3 separate regions of the Homo sapiens genome follow, and all the other regions are linked to region 1. The links are contacts of gene promoters, found by promoter capture Hi-C in human tissues and cell types (Jung and others, 2019). All regions are on one chromosome and are shown on one strand. The core of a region is centred on a gene start or on the middle of the fragment in contact, and the rest is flanking DNA. Distances in the headings are between cores, read along the strand shown.

The links. Contacts are between HindIII fragments. The study calls those that stand out against the background at their distance.
Region 2: a contact is called between a fragment that was not itself captured here and the fragment with the promoter of ZNF823 in region 1, in 4 of the 25 tissues and cell types used here (dorsolateral prefrontal cortex, lymphoblastoid cells, mesendoderm cells and 1 more).
Region 3: a contact is called between the fragment with the promoter of SWSAP1 here and the fragment with the promoter of ZNF823 in region 1, in 1 of the 25 tissues and cell types used here (pancreas).

Annotation. Positions count from the first base shown.
Region 1 is chr19:11,737,608-11,740,225 of GRCh38, reverse strand. It overlaps ZNF823 (zinc finger protein 823), which reads left to right and starts at 1,280. Exons shown (of 4, transcript NM_001080493.4): 1 at 1,280-1,409. The coding sequence starts at 1,407. RefSeq lists silencers at 1,102-1,296, 1,557-1,706 and enhancers at 1,307-1,386, 1,777-1,906. The HindIII fragment of the contact is 18,648 bases long and covers 1-2,618 here.
Region 2 is chr19:12,127,084-12,129,701 of GRCh38, reverse strand. No RefSeq gene overlaps it. Among named protein-coding and RNA genes, the nearest start is that of ZNF20, 12 kb to the left of the region's middle. The HindIII fragment of the contact is 9,523 bases long and covers 1-2,618 here.
Region 3 is chr19:11,373,374-11,375,991 of GRCh38, reverse strand. SWSAP1 (SWIM-type zinc finger 7 associated protein 1) reads right to left here and starts at 1,326. Exons shown (of 2, transcript NM_175871.4): 1 at 1,063-1,326; 2 at 1-479. The coding sequence starts at 1,311. RefSeq lists enhancers at 597-646, 667-746, 977-1,026, 1,247-1,316 and a silencer at 1,417-1,496. The HindIII fragment of the contact is 10,471 bases long and covers 1-2,618 here.

The DNA.
Region 1 (2,618 bases), core at 31-2,530:
GAGATGGAGTTTTTTTTTTTCCTCGCTCTGTTGCCCAGGCTGGAGTGCAGTGGTGTGATGTCGGCTCACTGCAACCTCTGCCTGCCGGGTTCAAGCGATACTCCTGCCTCAGCTTCCTGAGGAGCCGGGATTACAGGAGCGTGCCACCACACCCGGCTAATTTTGCGTTTTTAGTAGAAACGGGGTTTCATCATGTTTGTCAGGCTGGTCTCAAACTCCCGACCTCAGGTGATCCACCCGCCTCAGCCTCCCAAAGTGCTGGGATTACAGGCGTGAGCCACCGCGCCCGGCCATAACGCTTTTAAGTCTAGTATTTTTACTTCATAAACATATGGAGAAAGGCTAATGTTTTCAAATTCAAAGTGTGATGTCTTGGCTTTTGATTGGAGCGTTTAATTCATTAACATTTAATGGCATAAGGAGGGAGCATTTCCACGCTGTGCAGAGGGGACAGGTATTTTGAGACCTCAGAGTAAAATTCTTAATTGTCCCTCCCTTATCACCAGCTTCTGATCCACCCCGGAGCTCCATTTTAGGAATCATTGCCTGGCTTCCCAGCTTGGGGATATGTTTGACCTCCTGAAAGGGGGTCTGCTTGTGAACTGTGAGTGCAGTAGGCTGCTTCTCTGAGCTTGTTCAAGTTTTTGCTTTTCTTCTCTTTTGATTCTTTATGAAATATTGCTGCCATATAATTCCAGTTTTTCCACATACTCAACTATTTTATTTTGTTGTCCTGTTTTTATCTTCTGGGCTGAAAATGAGTAGATTGAGAGATAAGGTGAGGGAAAGGCTTGGCAACGTCGCCAACAGCCTCATCCCAAATTCCTGATCCCTGGAGGACATCAGGCCCTCCCTCCTGCTGCAGGGTGGCCTGTGTGCCCCGGGCTCCCCTCCTGCTCCGAGGTCCGGGAATGGCTCCACTGGACAGGGAGCCTGGAATTCCCTGCACACACTTGTGAGTCCCTGTCCAGGAGGAAAAAGCAGGAAGAACCCACTGAATACAATCAGGAAATTCTAAAATGCAAACGTCACTTCGGGAGGGGTCAGGTCACTCCGTTGGGAGGAAGCCCGCCTTGCCAAGGGTCGTGCCTGGAACCTGTTCATCCGGCTCCACTCAGCACTGTGAGATCGCTTCTTCTGTCAATCAGCCACCAAGGGGCGGGACCTGGAGCACTATCCAATCAGGGATGAGGGGGCGGGGATTGTGAGAACTGTCAATCAGGCACGCTGCAGGGAGGAGGGTGCGACGTTCAAAGAGCCCGCGGAGTCTTCTCCACGCCCCTGCGCTCTGAGTCCTGGCTCTGGCGCTGAGAGAGAGACGCCCTGGAAGGTCTGTATCAGCGTCTGTCGCGCTGGGACCCACACTGGCTTTTAAGGAGGACACCCGGACACCTGGAAGCTGGGAAATGGTGAGTGTGCGGGGCCCGGCGTCCCGAGGCAAAGAAGGGGCAGGTTGGAACCGGCCGGAACCGACCGTGAGGGGACCCGGGCCTCGCCCTGGGCGACTCCGGGGTCTGCAAATCCCAGTGCCCCTGGCGCAGCTCTGCCCTTGGTCCCCTGGGCCGCAAGATGGGGCTGGGGCGGCAGCCGGGACCCCGGGCGTCCTGTCCCGTCCCTGCTCGGCCGCTGCGGCCCCGGCCCCGGCGCCCTCTCTGGGCAGCTCCGCGCCCGCAGCTCCGCGTCTCCCCAGATTGTGCAGTTGTAACCGGCACAGGTTCACGGCCCGAGTCACTGCACCGAGACGCCGAAGGCTGCAGCAGAAACAGTTTAATGGGGGAGAGGGGAGGACACCCCAGATCCGCCTCCCTGAGAGGTTTGGGGATGGGGTGTTTAGAGGTGTGGACAGGGACGGCTGGAGTGTGGGGTCGCTGGTTGGTGGAGAAGTGAGAGGTGACTCCTGGGACTGGAGGTGAAGAAACCGCATTCTGCTGAGTGGGTTCCCTTGTGGGGTCTTCAGCCTGGTTGGCGCCAGCCTTTCCGCTGCAATTCAGGATCCGAGAAAGAACTGAGGCGACCCGTGAGCAACTCTCAAGAGATCTTATCCCCGGGCACGATGAGGAAGCCGGCGGTCAGCGTCTGCTGTGACCTGACTCTCAGGGAGGCGGCCCCGTGAGGCAGCGGGGCTGAGGGCACCTGGTTAATATCTAACTGCAATCTCGCCTCCAGCCTGGCTCGCAGTTCCTGTGAACCCGGTGAGGACGCTGCACGGTGACAACGGAGGGTCACCAGGCAGAATCCAGACTCGTGTGTGTGGGCTTTGTGCTTTGGAAGAGAAGCTGTGATCTGTGGGTTCCCCAGTCCCTTCTTTCTTCCCAAAGGTGACCGGTTTCCCTCCGAGTCTTCCAAAGATGTGGGCAGCAGGGTCTCAAATCCACCACCCTATCCCCTCATCCTAACTCCTCCTAGGGCTGGCAGCAAATCTCTTGGTTTTCAGAGCCTTCCCCAGGCTAACTGTCTCTCATCAATTCCCAGCAACTTTATGAACTCTTTGTCCCTCAGGCAATATTTCAAACAGAGGCATTATTTTAATTGTCACTTTCTTTTCACATAGCAATGTATGGCTCTTTTTAAAAGATGTGTTTTTGTGTTTGTGAACATTTCACATGTGAGGAAGCAAA
Region 2 (2,618 bases), core at 89-2,588, 390 kb before region 1:
GTCTCGATCTCCTGGCCTCGTGATCCGCCCACCTCGGCCTCCCAAAGTGCTGGGATTATAAGTGTGAGCCACCACGCCTGGCCCAAAAATTCTTATTTTGACTATTCATGTCTTATTTTTGCACTTTTTCACAAAGCAAGGTCAAAAAGCAAAGGAAAAATCCTTTAAGATCAATGTACTTAGGTTGAAAATGTGTTTTTTCTCAGGAAAAACTTGTAATTTATATAATTACAATCCTCAGTTTATTTGCAGCATCACCAAATTTTCTTACATATTTCAAATGTGAACTTAAGATATATATTTTTCTCATTATTTACATTTTGCTTCCTACCTATGGCTTTTTTTTTTTTTTTTTTGAGACAGAGTGTCGCTCTGTTGCCTAGGCTGAATTGCAGTGGCACGATCTCAGCTCACTGCAACCTCTGCTTCCCAGGTTCAAGCAAGTCTCGTCACAACCTCCCAAGTAGCTGGCACTACAGGCGAACACCACCATGCCCAGTTAATTTTTGTGTTTTTTGTAGAATTGGAGTTTCACCATGTTGGCCAGACTGGTCTCTAAACTCCTGGCCTCAAGCGATCCATCTGCCTCGGCCTCCCAAAGTGCTGGGATTATAGGCATGAGCCAACATGCCTGGCTCCTCTAGACCTTTTAAATCTTTTACTCATGATATTGGTCAGCCCACGGTCAAAATAATTCATAAAAGGTATATACAAAAATTCAACACCACAATGAAAGTTAAATTCATTTGTTTAGAACCACTCAAGCAACTCAGGTGTACACAGATAGACCTGTGGCAACTGGTGAACAATTAAATGGCACAGAAGTGGCTGGGTGCAGTGGCTCATGCCTGTAATCCCGGCACTTTGGGAGGCCGAGGCGGGCGGATCATGAAGTCAGGAGATTGAGACCATTCTGGCCAACATGGTGAAACCTGTCTCTACTAAAATACAAAAAATTAGCCGGGCGTGGTGGCGGGCTCCTATAGTCCCAGCTACTCAGGAGGCTGAGGCAGAGGAATCCCTTGAACCCGGGAGGCAGAGACTGCAGTGAGCTGAGATCGTGCCACTGCACTTCAGCCTGGCAAAAGAGCAAGACTCTGTCTCAAAATAAATAAATGGCACGGAAGTTGCAATAATGACCTCTGCTGTGCAGTACTCTCTTGGCAGAGATACACAAGAACTCCAATAAGGCCCTCATATGATATGCAGAACTGCCTCAAACATCATGTGACCATAGAACTTTGCCAAGGACAGTCTTTTTGTACATCTCTGCACCTGGCTTACCCAAAGATTGGACTGGGCGCATTTCTCAAGCCATTGTCTACTGAACGTTCTTTGTAGCGTGTGGGGCAATGACGATTGCCTAGGTGTAATTTCCTAATCGCTGGGGTAGGTCTGGTTTCTGAGGGCCCAGCAGAGGAACTCAGTTCACAAAAATGGCTTCCTGTAGTTTCTGCTTGATACTTCCTATTCTGCCATCTTCCCAGAATCCTCTTTCCTGACTTCATATACTAACACGTCATTTCAGATCTCACTACAGATGTCACCACCTCAAGACACTGTCTTCTTTTCCGCCCCCCTTACCCCAACTTGAAACTCAAGGTCACACTCTCTCACCCATTACTCCTATTTCATTTAGTGTGTAGAATTTTTTCAACACACTTGTCAGAATCTGGAACATAACGTTCACAGGGTTGATTGCTCTCTGTTTAACAAGGTAAAAAGTTAAGTCATGTAGGCTGGGTGCGGTGGCTCACGCCTGTTATCCCAGCACTTTGGGAGGCCAAGGTAGACAGATCACGAGGTCAGGAGATCGAGACCATCCTGGCTAACATGGTGAAACCCTGTCTCTACTAAAAATACAAAAAATTAGCCGGGCGTGGTGGCGGGCGCCCGTAGTCCCAGCTACTCAGGAGGCTGAGGCAGGAGAATGGCATGAACCTGGGAGGCAGAGCTTGCATTGAGCCAAGATTGTGCCACTGCACTCCAGCCTGGGTGACAGAGCAAGACGCTGTCTCAAAAAAAAAAAAAAAAAAGTCATGTAAATTTAAGTGTCACCTTTCTTTTCTTTTCTTTTTTTTTTTGAACCTTTTCACCAACTGTTACACACTTTTTTTTTTTTTGAGACAGAGTCTCGCTCTGTCGCCAGGCTTGAGTGCAGTGGTGCGATCTCAGCTCACTGCAACCTTCACCTGCTGGGTTCAAGCAATTCTCCTGCCTCAGCCTCCCGAGTAGCTGGGATTACAGGCACGCACTACCACACCTGGTTAATTTTTGTATTTGTATTTGTATTACAGATGTGAGCCACCGCGCCTGGCTTACACCCTATATTAAAAAGTATTTCAGGGGCCAGGCACGGCGGCTTATGCCTATAATCCCAGCACTTTGGGAGGCCAAGGCGGGCGGATCACTTGAGGTCAGGAGTTCTAGACCAGCCTGGCCAACATAGTGAAACCCTGTCTCTACTAAAAGTACAAAAATTAGCCGGCTGGGGTGGTGGCCACCTGTAATCCCAGCTACTCGGGAGGCTGAAGCAGGAGAATCACTTGAACCTGGGAGGCAGAGGTTGCAGTGAGCTGAGACTGCAACACTGCACTCCAGCCTGGGCAACAGAGCAA
Region 3 (2,618 bases), core at 77-2,576, 360 kb after region 1:
CCCTTGCCTGAGCTGGGGTCACCAGCCTGGGTGGGCCACGGAGCGATCATCATTTCTCCATCTGATCGGAAAGTCACCCACCACTCTGTTCTGGGGCCCAGCCCGCCTGGCTCCAGGCAGGCTCGGAGGCCGTGCTCTCCTGGACCTGGTGCATCTGGCTGCAGCCAGCACTGGGCAGGAAAATACCGCTGGAGCAGTGCCAGGTGCAGGACGTCCCCACTACCTGCTTCCTCCTGGGTCTGGAGGGCCACCATGAGCCCACAATCCCGGCCAGGCCCAAGCCGGTGGCTGAAGTGGGCAGCTGTGTCTAGAAGTAAGGCAATGAGGTAGGCGGCTTCCTGGGGCTCTGGGTCTTCCGCTAGGTACTCTTCTAGGCCGTCGAGCAGCAGAAGGGAGGGGGCTGGCCCCGGGGCCTCATGGGCAGAGCACAGGAGCCGGAAAAGCTCTCGGGTTGAGGGTGGGTACTGGAAGCGGATCTTCTAGAAGGAGAAACAGAAGGAAAGGGCCGGATTCAGCACAGGAAGCCAGACTCCTTAAAAGTAACCCTGCCTCCTTGCATACTTTCCTTGGTTCCAGGATGAACCAGTTCAGAGCTGTTAAATATTCTTATATTCGCCCGTTTTTCCAGCACTCATCACTGCCGAGTATTAGTTGAGGGCAAGCCATTTTTGCTTGTTTGTTTTTGGCCAAATCTCTAGCGCAATTTTTCCACGGAAAACCCTCCCCCAGCATTCTCGGTCTGACCCCATCCTTGACACTAACAGGAACCAACTCAGGTCCAGAATGGACCCAAGCTTAGCCCCGCCCCTTGATGGGCCGGACTTCAATCTCTGGGCACCGCCTCTTGCTAACACCGCCCATCATTGGATGGGCTCTCACTTCAATCTTAACTAAGCTCCGCGTGGTGCCACTCCTCACTCCGCCTGCCTGACTCCGCCCCATCGTGGCTGCCCTGGCTCGCTCTTCCACCGTCCTCTCCATTGGCTTGTCTACCTGTTACTCAATATCCCGGATCTACTCCACCATTGGCTAGAACGCCTCTGCTCCCACCCCCACGGTTACCTGGAGTCGCATTGGGTCTAGAGTCGTTCCGGTCCCGCGGGGCATGCTTTGAAGAGGCCTTCGTGTCAGGAAGAGGACTGGGCCTTGGCCCTCCCCCGCCGCCTCTAGGGCCGCAGCAAATAGCAGCGCTGTTTTTCCAGATCCTGGTGTACCGAGCAGCAGCAAAGGCGGTCCGGCGGCAGGCATGTTCTCCTCCCCGGACCAGGCCGCACCGCCCCTGGTTAGCACCCGCCTCAGCGTCTCCGCCATTCGCCGCGTAGCTCTGACCAATCGGTGGCTCGTTCCCAGCCTTAGTCCCGCCCAAGCCGTGGCCGCATCGGTACAGTTCACTTAGTTTCTCTATTGGTCTAGGAATCTGTCCATCAAAACTCGATTCCTCAGGTGAATGGGCAAATGGTTAGAACCTATGCGGAGGAATGGGTGCATTCGAGGGAAATAAGACCCTTCCCTGAGGGAGGCTGCTGGGGGAACCAGCACGAATACTATTATTGTCAGCTAATCAGACAAATATAAGGGTTGAAAGTTGGAGGAGTAGACCAGAATGAGTGACATATTATTTAAAGGCTCCTAGCCTCAGTTTGCCCTGCTGTAAAATGGGGCTTATGATATCTCAGAGGAGTATTGTGATCGGCATGTATTTGTGTGTGGTTTTGCTGATGTCATCCAATGACAACTGAGAGTTTTGGAGAGGGGGATGAGCTGTGTGCTTGTCTTTCTGTGCACCTGAGTATGGGCCGGAGTGTGTGTCTGGGGACACAGGCTCGTGGACAAAACATCAACGGCCATCCCCGAAAGTCTGTGAGATGAAGCCTCTCAACTTACTTCCTCACTGGCTAAGGGGTTCTGTGGGGCCGCCTTTGTGGTACGGGGGGAAGGCAGGACCGCAGGACAAAGAAGGAAGCAGGAGAGATAAAGAGACAGGAGCTGGAAGACTGAAGGAGAGATACAGCAGGGACATTGTCTTGTTCACTTCTGTTCTCCAGTACCGAGAATAGCACCTAGCACATTTGTAGGTTCTCAAATACGTGCTCGTTAAGACAATGAAGGAAGGGAGGTGGGATTGATGAGAAACAGGGAGAAAGGGAGGAACAAAGTGAATGATCGTGATCCCTGGCTGGATCTTCTCACCCAGACTTCGCCCCAGAGCTGCCACTCACGCCTGTGTTGCCCTGGCAACCTTGTCTCCTGGTAACTCCAAAGTGGTGCCGTTGCCTGGAGACCCAGGGGCAGGGAGAAAGTGAGATTTCCTGGGCTTTCTCTCTCCCTCTGGGACCAGAAAACAGCTCCACGACATCCCCCAACACACCCACTCACACAGCTGGGCTCACTCACACCCCTCTACACACACACACACACACACACACACACCATGGCATCTCTGAATATATTCTACTTTCAGAATCCCCATCATCCACATGCTCCAACCTTGCCCTATCCTGACACAAAGCATCCCATACAAACTCTGTCCCACATTCATCCCCCACACCCTTTCTCTTGCAAAACACGCAACTATGACATTGCCACTACACACACAGACACACACAGTGAAGCACACC